Linked DNA regions of Homo sapiens: region 1 is linked to region 2. Evidence: promoter capture Hi-C in human tissues and cell types (Jung and others, 2019). All regions are on one chromosome and are shown on one strand. The core of a region is centred on a gene start or on the middle of the fragment in contact, and the rest is flanking DNA. Distances in the headings are between cores, read along the strand shown.

What was found. The method cuts DNA at HindIII sites, captures the fragments that hold promoters and counts their contacts. A contact is called where the count stands out against the background at its distance.
Region 1: a contact is called between the fragment with the promoter of CATSPERG here and the fragment with the promoter of DPF1 in region 2, in 1 of the 25 tissues and cell types used here (liver).

What each region holds. Positions count from the first base shown.
Region 1 is chr19:38,332,980-38,337,881 of GRCh38, reverse strand. CATSPERG (catsper channel auxiliary subunit gamma) reads right to left here and starts at 2,052. Exons shown (of 29, transcript NM_021185.5): 1 at 2,007-2,052; 2 at 378-661; 3 at 236-289. The coding sequence starts at 647. RefSeq lists silencers at 1,265-1,434, 1,805-1,884 and enhancers at 2,005-2,214, 2,019-2,313. The HindIII fragment of the contact is 10,217 bases long and covers 1-4,902 here.
Region 2 is chr19:38,222,972-38,228,186 of GRCh38, reverse strand. DPF1 (double PHD fingers 1) reads left to right here and starts at 3,965. Exons shown (of 12, transcript NM_001135155.3): 1 at 3,965-4,073. The coding sequence starts at 4,045. RefSeq lists an enhancer at 1-708 and a silencer at 3,631-4,200. The HindIII fragment of the contact is 15,736 bases long and covers 1-5,215 here.

The DNA of each region.
Region 1 (4,902 bases), core at 803-3,302, 110 kb before region 2:
CCGGGCGTGGTGTCACATGCCTGTAGTTCCAGCTACTTGGGAGGCCGAGGCAGGAGCATCGCTTGAACACGGGAGGCGGAGGTTGCAGTGAGCCGAGATCGCGCCACTGCACTCCAGTCTGGGCAACAGCGCAAGACTCCGTCTCAAAAAAATAAAATAAATAAATAAATAAAAATGTTAGAGGTGGGAAAACCAAGGCTCATAGAATGAGCCTATCCGTGCTGCACCCACTCACCTTTTCCTCGCAGGAGTAGTTGATCTTCAGGTAGTAAGGGAAGCCCAGGTATTTCTGCAAAGAGAGGTTAGGCCACACGTCCAGAAATGAGTGGAGTGCGGGTTCAAAATCCCTCTGGTTCACTTGACCCTGGTCCCCTCACCTCGCTCGGGTCGATGGGTGAGTCCACCAGCATGTGAAACAAGCTGCTCACTGTGTCCACGGGCTCTTGCTCAAAGAAGCTGTCGCTCACACCACTCTCGCCTACCCTCTTAAACTCGTTCAGGACAACCTGCCAGGTGCATTCCTGGAAATCCTTGATCGCCCACAGCCTCCACGACGCCAGGAGCACTGCCAGCAGGGCCCACAGCACCTGCACGACTCGGACTCTGGGCCACGGAGGACCGGCAGGGAACATGGCTGGGCCGCACATAACGTGGCTAGAACCTGGAGAACGCAGGAGTCAACACCCACGCGCCGGACAGCTCTCTGGAGCCCACTTTTAAGATTCCACCTCGCTTCTGCGCCTCTCACAGCACTTGCTCCTGGCCACGCCCCGGCTCTTGCTCCTGGCCCCGCCCCTGCACTTGCTCTTGGTCCCGCCCCTGCTCTTGCTCCTGGCCCTGCCCCCGCACGGACTTTTAGCCCCGCCTCTGCTCTTGTTCCTGGCTCCGCCTCTGCACTTGCTCCTGGTCCCGCCCCTGCTCTTGCTCCTGGCCCTGCCCCCGACCCTCGTGGGTATCGCACCTCTGCTATTGCTCCGGGCCCCAGCCCTACTAATGTTTCTGGCCACACCCCTGCTCCTCCGCCTCGTTCCGCCCCGCCGCCTCCACGTCTCTTCCTTTAACTTTATCCTCACCTTGCTCCTTATTCCGCCCCCTCCCTGTATTCCACTCTTGCTCTTCACCTGGTCTTGGTTTCTATTTCTCGCTTTGACAGTCCCCCTCTTAAGTTCCCCCGTACTGCTTCTGCCTGCGATCGCACCCGTGTACTTCCACCCGGCTGTGCCCCAACCTCTTGCCCCACCCTCGCACTTCTCTTGGTATCGCCGCTTTCTCCTCGCTCGGGGTCTGCCCAGGGGCTGGGTACTGTACCTGGTCTCGCCCGTCTCCGGGCCCCGCCCCTGCTCTTGCTCCCGGCCCCGCCCCTGCTCTTGCTCCCGGCCGGGCCCCCGTTTCTCGCCCGGGGCTTGCTCCTCACTCTGCTTCCGCTCCTGACCGCGCCCCTACTCCTCCACTTGGTCTTTATGGACCCGTTCCTTCCCCGGGTTCTCGGCGATTGGTTCTTCCCGCGCGGGCCCGTCGCCCCGTCCCGCCCTCTGGTAACGCCCCTCCTCCTCGCCCTGCCCCTTCTCGATGAAAACTGTCTCTTCGCCTCGGGATCTTTCCTCGCCCTTCGTTGTTTCCTCGCCCCACACCTTCTCCTTCCACGCCGGCACCAGCTTCTTAGCCGGCACCTTCTTGAGTCTCACCTTCCCCTCGTACCGCGACACCTTCTTGCCCCACTTCTTACTCTTCCTTCCCATGCCATTAACACCTGCCTGCTCTATACCCCGACTCTCCTGCCCCGCCCCGCCCTTCGCCCTTCACGTTCGGCTCCCCCTTTCCCTCCTCTGCCAGCTCCCACGACTCTTCCCCTCTTTCCCTCCTCTCCCAGCTCCCACGACTCTTCCCCTCTTTCCCCTGCCTCTCCCCTTCTCGCCTTCCCCTTCCCCTCCCCTTCCTAGTTCCTCCCCGTCCCCGGCATCCCCCCGCCCCTGGATGGCACAGCTTTTTCCCCGGCCCCGTGGTACCAGTCACTTGGTTAAAACCGGTCAACTGTCACTCGGCCGCACCAGTCCCGCCCCTCTTGCCCGGTCTCAAAATGGCCGCCCACACTTCCACAGCCGACTTCCGCCTTTGCAGAGGCACGCCCTCCTCTCACGCGGTCTCCAAGGTGACGCGCAACCCCTAAGGCACCGAGGGCTGGAGGCTGTCTCAGCACTGAGGGCGCGGGGCCTGGTCGGCAGAGGGTGCTGGAGACTACGTTTGTGCCAGGAAGGCCTTCAAGGAGTTTCTATTGGTTGTTCTGGCAGCAAGCACGGTCCCTACTTGTGCTTCCTACCCAAATATATATATATATATATTTTTTTGAGACGGAGTTTCGCTCTTTCTCCCAGGCTGGAGTGTGAAGTGGCGCGATTTCGGCTCACTGAAACCTCCGCGCCCCTGCCCCGGATTCAAGCGATTCTCCTGCCTCAGCCTCCCGAGTAGCTGGGATTATAGGCTCCCGCCACCACGCCTGGCTAATTTATTTTTTGTATTTTTAGTAGAAACGGGGTTTCATCATGTTGGCCAGGCTGGTCTCGACTCCTGACCTCAGGCGAACCACCCGCCTCGGCCTCCCAAAGTGCTGGGATTACAGGCGTGAGCCACTGCGCCCGGCCCTACCCCAAAATTCTACTCCTTAAAAAAGTGTGGTTTCCTGGAGACCTTGTGAGAATGAATAGGCTGCTTAGCACCGTCCTCTACAAAACAGGACAAGGACAGCCATCCTATACTGTTGTGGGAAGTGTGCCCGGCTCAAGTAAAATATTCATTAAGTTAATTTTCATTTGCATTCTGATGCCTTACAGGTAAGGATTCAGGCCATGACTTTTTGATGAACTCCAGACCAGACGTTTAACCCAGTGGTTTTCAAATTTGAGCATGCATTAGACTCACCTAAAAGGCTGGGTAAGCCAGGTTGGTGGGTACCACACCCTGAGTTTTTGTTTTTGTTTTAAAGATGGAGTCTCTGGCTGGGCATAGTGGCTCATGCCTATAATCCCAGCACTTTGGAAAGCTGAGGCAGGCGGATCACTTGAGGTCTGAAGTTGGATACCAGCCTGGCCAACATGATAAAACCTTGTCTCTACCAAAAAATACAACAATTAGCCGGGCATGGCGGCGGGCACCTGTAATCCCAGCTACTCGGGAGGCTGAGGCAGGAGTTGCTTGAACCCAGGAGGCGGAGGTTGCAGTGAGCCGAGATCCCTCCACTGCACTCCAGCCTGGGCGACAGAATGAGACCCTGTCTCAAAAAAAAAAAAAAAAATTAAGCCAGATGTGGTGCTGCACACCTGTAATCCCAGTACTTTGGGAGGCTGAGGTAGGAGGATCGCTTGAGGCCAGCCTGGGCAATATGGTAAGACCCTGTTGCTAACAATTTTTTTAAATTAGCCCAGTGTGGTGGTCCATCCCTGTGACCCCAGCTACCTGGGAGGTTGAGGCAGGAAGACCACTTGAGCCCAGGAGTTTGAGGCTGCAGTGAGCTCTGAAATACACGGAAATGCAGTGAGCTGTGATCACACCACTGCATTTCAGCCTGGGCAAAAGAGCAACACCCTATCTCAGGTTAGCCTTGAATTTCAGGCCTCATGTGAGCCTCCCATCTCAGCCTCCTGAGTAACTACCTGGCTACTTCCAGAATTTTTCATTCAGTAGATCTGGAGTGGGGCCTGATAATTTGTATTTCTGGCAAGTTCCTAGGTGATGCTGATACTAGTGGTCTGGAGACCACACCTTGAGAACCAGTGCTCTAGAACCTTCCATGACCCTCTAGGCCCTCAGGAAAACTTCCAAACCCCTCGGTTTCCAGAGCCCCTCATACTCTCCTCCCTGTCATTCTATCTGGCTCATCTGCCCTCTCCCCCTTAGACCTCTGTGGTCCACAGTCTGGTCACATGGAGCGACTTGAATATCCTTGGTCAGGTGTGAGCCATGCATGCTCCAGACCTGTGCAGACTCAGTAATGCCCTCTGGAATACCATTCCATGCTTTTTAACAGGGCCCACCACTTTCCTTCCTTTAGGTCTTCTCTGTGATACATGACCAGCCCTCATCCTACCTCTTGGCCCCTCTAGGCCACTCATGACTGGAAATGGGTGTTTCTTTTCCACTGGATCACAAGCTCCGTGAGGGCAGGGTGTATGGCTTTCTCTGCCTCTGTTGTCCCCCAGCCCTGCCAGGCACCGCATATAATAGTTGTTTTATGTAAATGAACCGATGATGGTGGTCTATCCTTCCCACCCCAGCCCACCCCCGCAGGCTAGGGAACGGTGACATCTTCTAGGGGAAGAAACTCAGTAGCCATGTACCAGAGCCCTTTTTTTTTTATTTTGTTTTTTTAGAAACGGGGTCTCACTCTCTCACCCAGGCTGGAGTGGAGTGGCGCAATCATTGCTCGCTGCAGCCTCGAACTCCCAGGCTCAAGTGATCTTCCCATGTCAGCCTCCCAAGTAGCTGGAACTGCAGATGCGAGTCATCATATCCAGTTAATTTGTTTTATTTTTACTTTTTTTTTTTTAGAGATGGGGGTTTCTTTTTCATCTTCTTTTTTTCCCTTTTTTTTTTTTTTTTTTTGTTGAGACAAAGTCTCACTCTGTCGCCCAGGCTGGAGTGCAGTGGTGCCATCACAGCTCACTGCAACCTCCACCTCCCCGTTTCAAGCAATTCTCCTGCCTCAGCCTCCTGAGTAGCTGGGATTACAGGCATCTGCCACCGTACCCGACTAATTTTTATATTTTTAGTAGAGACAAAGTTTCACCATGTTGGCCAGGCTGGTCTCGAACTCCTGACCTCAAGCGATCCACCCGCTTCAGCCTCCCAAAGTGCTGGGATTACAGATGTGCTTCATTGCACCCGACCTTTATTCATCTTTTAAAAAAA
Region 2 (5,215 bases), core at 2,716-5,215:
GTGTGTGGGGCTCGGGTCCGTGTGAGGTGGTGTATGATGGTGACACCCCTCTGCTGCCCTCTCACCCTAAGTGGCACACACAGACAGCTGTCTCTCCTGTGAGGGGACATCCGCAAAATGGCTGGGAACGGGGCTCTTGTGCAGGTTGGTGGATCTACAGGCGATGGGGCCCCTCACCCTGACCCTGGCCCAGACCCCTGGGAGGAGGTGTGCTACAGCCGTGAGCAGGGGCCCAGCTACAGTAAGCCTGGACTGGGAGGGCCCTACCCCTCTGTGCCCTTCCCTTCCAAAAGGTCTCTGTGGGGGTGAAGGTGGGGACTCCCTGGCTCCTGAAAGAATGTGAGTCAAATCCCCTGGGGAGAAGGAGCTGCAGGGTGCCGCCCTCGGAAGTTCCGACTGCCTGAGTTCCAAAACCAGCTTGAGCCACGAATGTTCCCTGCCGTGAGCCTCAGTTTTGCCATCTGTGTATGGGGGCTTCTAACAGCCCTTACCACCCGATGGGACTGTCGTGGGGCTAAGGCCATCTTTGTAAAGCAGTTAGCACAGAGACTGACACTGACCAAATGTAGTGATTATTATTAGTAGTATCAATATTGATTTATGAAATTGATTTCTACTGTGGGCCAGCTCCCACACAGGGCATTGGGGGATGGGGCAGGAGGATTGTTTGGGCCAGGGAGAGGACTGGGAGTTCAAGTGTGTAGGAGAGTATGTGGGAGTGGTGTGTGCAGGTGGTTAGGGCAGAAGGAAAGAAAGGAGAGCCCGCTGCAAGTGTCAGCCTGCGTCTGTGGGTAGATATCCTGCTGGTGGGCCGGGCATGGTGGCTTATGCCTGTAATCTCAGCACTTTGGGAGGGCAGGGTGGGCAGATCACTTGAGCTTAGGAGTTTGAGACTAGCCTGGCCAACACAGGGACACCCTGTTTTTACAAAAATACAAAAATTAGCCGGGTGCGGTGGCACAGGCCTGTAGTCCCAGCTACTTGGGGGTTTGAGGTGGGAGGATCGCTTGAGCCTGGGAGGTGGAGGCTGCAGCGAGCTGTGTTCATGCCATGGCACTCCAGCCTGGGCCATCGAGTGAGACGCTGTCCAAAAAAAAAAAAGAGAAAAAGAGAAAGAGGAAAGAAAGAGAAGAAAAGAAAGAAAGAAAGAAAGGAAGGAAGGAAGGAAGGAAGGAAGGAAGGAAGGAAGGAAGAGAAATAAAAGAAGAAAAGAAAAGAAAGAAAAATAGAAATTCTGCTGGTAGAGGAGGACTGTTAGGAAGGTCTGCACTCAGTGTCTACACTCGGGCTTCTCTTAATCAAATCGACATGAGAGTTTGGGGTGGGGCAGGAGTGAGTCTGCGTGTCTGAGGCTAGCGGTGTGGGAATCAAGTGTAAGAGGGTGTGTTACGGGACCTGTGAGCTAATGGGAGGTGAGAGAGGAAGGTGGGGTCACAGCTCACCGTGGGTAAGGTGTGAGGTGGCCACTATAGGGCCCTGGAGGCCAGAGTGATCGTAGGGGTGTCAGTGCCCCTCACTTAATCCCCTTGTCACCACTCCAGGCCATATGTGAATCAGAGACCTACCTCCTGTTCCAGGAGAGGGGCCGGCCAAGACCTTACCTGGCTTAGATGGGCGAGTTTGTGGAAAGGGTCTAAGACTAGAGGAGTGTGTGTGTGTGTGTGTGTGTGTGTGTGTGTGTGTAGAAGTGACCGTGAGTGTAGGAGGCCTTGACTGGATCTCTCTCTTGGGGGGATTTCAAGTGACAAAAATGGTGAAGGCTAGCGGGCCACTTCTGTCGGCTGGGGCGCCCCCTGGTGGATGAGGGCGTTTGTGGGCGTGTTAATTACAGCAGCCGCCCAAATTTGAATGCTGGCTCTACAGGGGTCCGGGTGGAAGAGGGGAAGGGGAAAGGGGGAGAAGGGGTGGGAAGGGGAAAGGGGGAGGAGGGGTGAGACGGGAGGGGGGACGGGGTGGTGGTGTTGCAGAGAGACTGGGTCAGTTTGTGACTCAGTGGGTCTGCTCACTCCCTGGGGATCTCTTCGGGTGGAGTCAGTGTGGGTGACAGTGGGAGAGAGAAGGAGGTCAGGACTACTTGGGGAGGGCCGTCAGGGGTGCCTGCCTCCTTCCTTCAGTCTTACCTTCAAAGAGCCGCCAGGGCATGCGGGCATGTGAGGTTACCTTCCTGTGCCTCAGATTCCTCACCTGGAAAATGCAGATAATAAAAGCATCCCGGGGTGAACTGTGCCCAGCACATGATGGGTGCATTTACTCATTCAACAAATATCTACTGAGCATCTATTTTTTTTTTTTTTTTTGGAGACAGGGTCTTGCTCAGTTGTCCAGGCTGGAGTGTAGTGGTGTGATCATAGCTCACTGCAGCTTCGATCTCCTGGGTTCAACCAATCCTCCTGACTCAGCCTCCTGAGTAGCTGGGACCATAGGCATGTGCCACCATGCCCAGCTATTTATTTTTTTTTTAGTAGAGACCAGGTCTCGCTATGTTGCCCAGGCTGTTCTCCTGAGCTCAAGCGGTCCTCTCATCTCAGCCTCCCAGATTGCTGGGATTACAGGCATGAGTCACGGCGCCCTGCTTACTTAGTTTTTTGTTTGTTTGTTTGTTTGTTTGTTTGCTTTTAGAGACAGAGTCTCGCTCTGCCACCCAGGCTGGAGTGCAGTGGTGAGACCACAGCTCACTGCAGCCTCAGCCTCCCAGGTTCAAGCTATCCTCCCACTTTAGCCTTGCAAGTAGCTGGGACTACACTGCTGCGCCATCATGCCCAGCTAATTTTAATTTTTTTTTGTAGACACAGGGGTCTGGATATGTTGCCCAGGTTGGTCTCAAACTCCTGGGCTCAAGCAGTGCTCTCATCTAGGCCTCCCGAAGTACTGGGATTGCAGACTGGAGCCATCGCACCTGGCCGCATTATTCTTTCTTTCTTATTATTTATTTATTTATTTTTGAGAGGGAGTCTCACTCTTGTTGCCCAGGCTGGAGTGCAATGGCACGATCTCAGCTCACTGCAACCTCCACCTCCTGAGTTCAAGTGATTCTCCTGCCTCAGCCTCCTGAGTGGGGGAGTATAAGCATGCGCCACCATGCCCGGCTAATTTTGTATTTTTAGTAGAGACTACTACCATGTTGGCCAGGCTGGTCTCGAACTCCCATCCTCAGGTGATCCACCTGCCTGGGCCTCCCAAAGTGCCGGGATTACAGGTGTGAGCCACTGCGCCTGGCCTGCCAGTCACCTCTTAAAATGCTTTACCTATATTTACTCATTTAATCCTCACAACACTCCAGTGAGGCATCATCCTCTTTTTACAGATGAGGAAACTGAGGCCCAGAAAGGTTAAGTCATTTGCCAAGGTCACATGGCCACCAAGTGGCAGAGCTAGGATTTGAACCCTGGAGGTGTGACTACTGTTTCTAACCTGCACTGCTGCTGTCAGGCCTGCAGAAGGCGTTGAGCAGGGCGGGGTGACCGTGAGCGTGGCTGCTGGGAGAGACAGCCCCGGGTGGGGTCTCTGGAGCCAGGAGGGACTTGGGTGGGGGGCGGTGAGGGGGTGTCTGCTGGAAGCATGTTGGTGAGAAGTCTGTGTGGGCACCTGGGAGGTGTCTCTGCGTCTCTTAGTATTGCAGTGTGTGTGCGTGTGGCTGTGTGAGTCCGTGCGAAGGTGTGTGAGTAGGAGTGTGTGGGAGGCTGTGAGTATCCGCGTGAATGTGTGTGTAAACTGCCATGCGTGGGCGTGTGCGAGTCCAGGTGTGCATGTGGTTGTGTGCACGCGAGAGCAGGATATGTGGACGAGTGAGGGCGGGTGAGTGACGGTGCGTGCCCCGGGCCCCTCCTCCGCGCCGTCCCGTCCCCGCGGGGTCCCGGGGGCCCCCTGGCCTGGGACTACCACTCCCAGCATGGCCCGGGCGGGCCCGCCCCGTCGCCGCGATTGGCCGTGGCCCTCGTGCTCCCGCCCCCCGGGAATGAATGGATGGGCGGCCTCAGCGCCCGCCCGACCGCTGGGAGGACCGACCCGGCGGGGACCTGCTGGGGGCAGGACCCGGGGAGCAAGATGGCCACTGTCATCCCTGGCCCCCTGAGGTGGTGCGGGCCGGCGGGAGGCGGAGAGGAAGCGCGGGCGGGTCTACGCGGGCCTGTGTGTGTGTGGCGACCGGGGGTGGGGCCGAAGGGGTGTCTGGGGGGCTGTCACCGAGTGCGGGGCTGCGCGGGGGTGCGAGAGTGTGTGACTGTGGGTCTCTGACAAGAATGGTGTCGGATGCACCGCTCCCTGGCGGGGTGGAGGGCGTGGGGGGCCTCCAGATTCTTTTTGGGGAAGGGAGACATCATCCCTTCCCTGCAACCCTCGGGTCTGGGAGAGACTGAAATGACCCGGGGGTGCGGGGGCCTTGGCAACTGGAGTGAAGTCCACACTACCTTTGTCTTGGGATGTGGAGTGTGTGTGTGTATCACTTATTTGTGTTCTGGTTTTTTTAAGAATTTTTGGGGGATAGGTGTGTGGACATGTGTCTGTTTCCTTTTATTCTGCACTAGATATCTTTGGATATTTGGGTCTCCCAGTGTGTGTCCGTGTCCTTTGGAACTATATGTCATTTGTCTTGTGTTCTGTGTTTTTGGGTATGTAGGGCTGCGTGTATTTGTGTGTAAATTTTTGTGTGACTATGGGTGGATTTGGCTGTTTCTGTGTTTTATATGTGTGTGTGTCTGTGTGGATGTGTGATATTTTAGATACTGGTTGCGCATCGTGCATCTTTGTAAATGTGTGTGTGTACCTGTGTGAATCTGTGTGATTTCTTTGTGTTGTGTGTCTGGATATTGTGTGTGTGGTTTGTGTTGTGTCTTTGGATACATGGGTAAGTGCCTAGGGGCGCAAGTGGTTTCTGTAGTTCCTGTCTTTTGACATGCTTGTGTCTTTGGATGCATGAGGGGGTGTATGTGTGTGTGGTGTGATGTTTCCATGTTGTGTGTCTTTGTGTGGGTGATGTGTTTCTGGTGTGTGTCTGTGGATATGTGATGTGTCTTTGTGCATGGTTATTTGTGTGATTTGTCTCCACACTATGGAACTTGGGATATTTGTCTTTTTCAGTAGATATTTATGTGTGCACGTGTGTGAGGTTTGTCTGTTTCTCCTTTGTGAGTATTGGGATTTGTCTCTCTTTGTGTGTGAATCCCGTGTGACTGTGTGTGATTTGTGTTGTGTGTCTGCATGTGTTCAGGTAGGGATA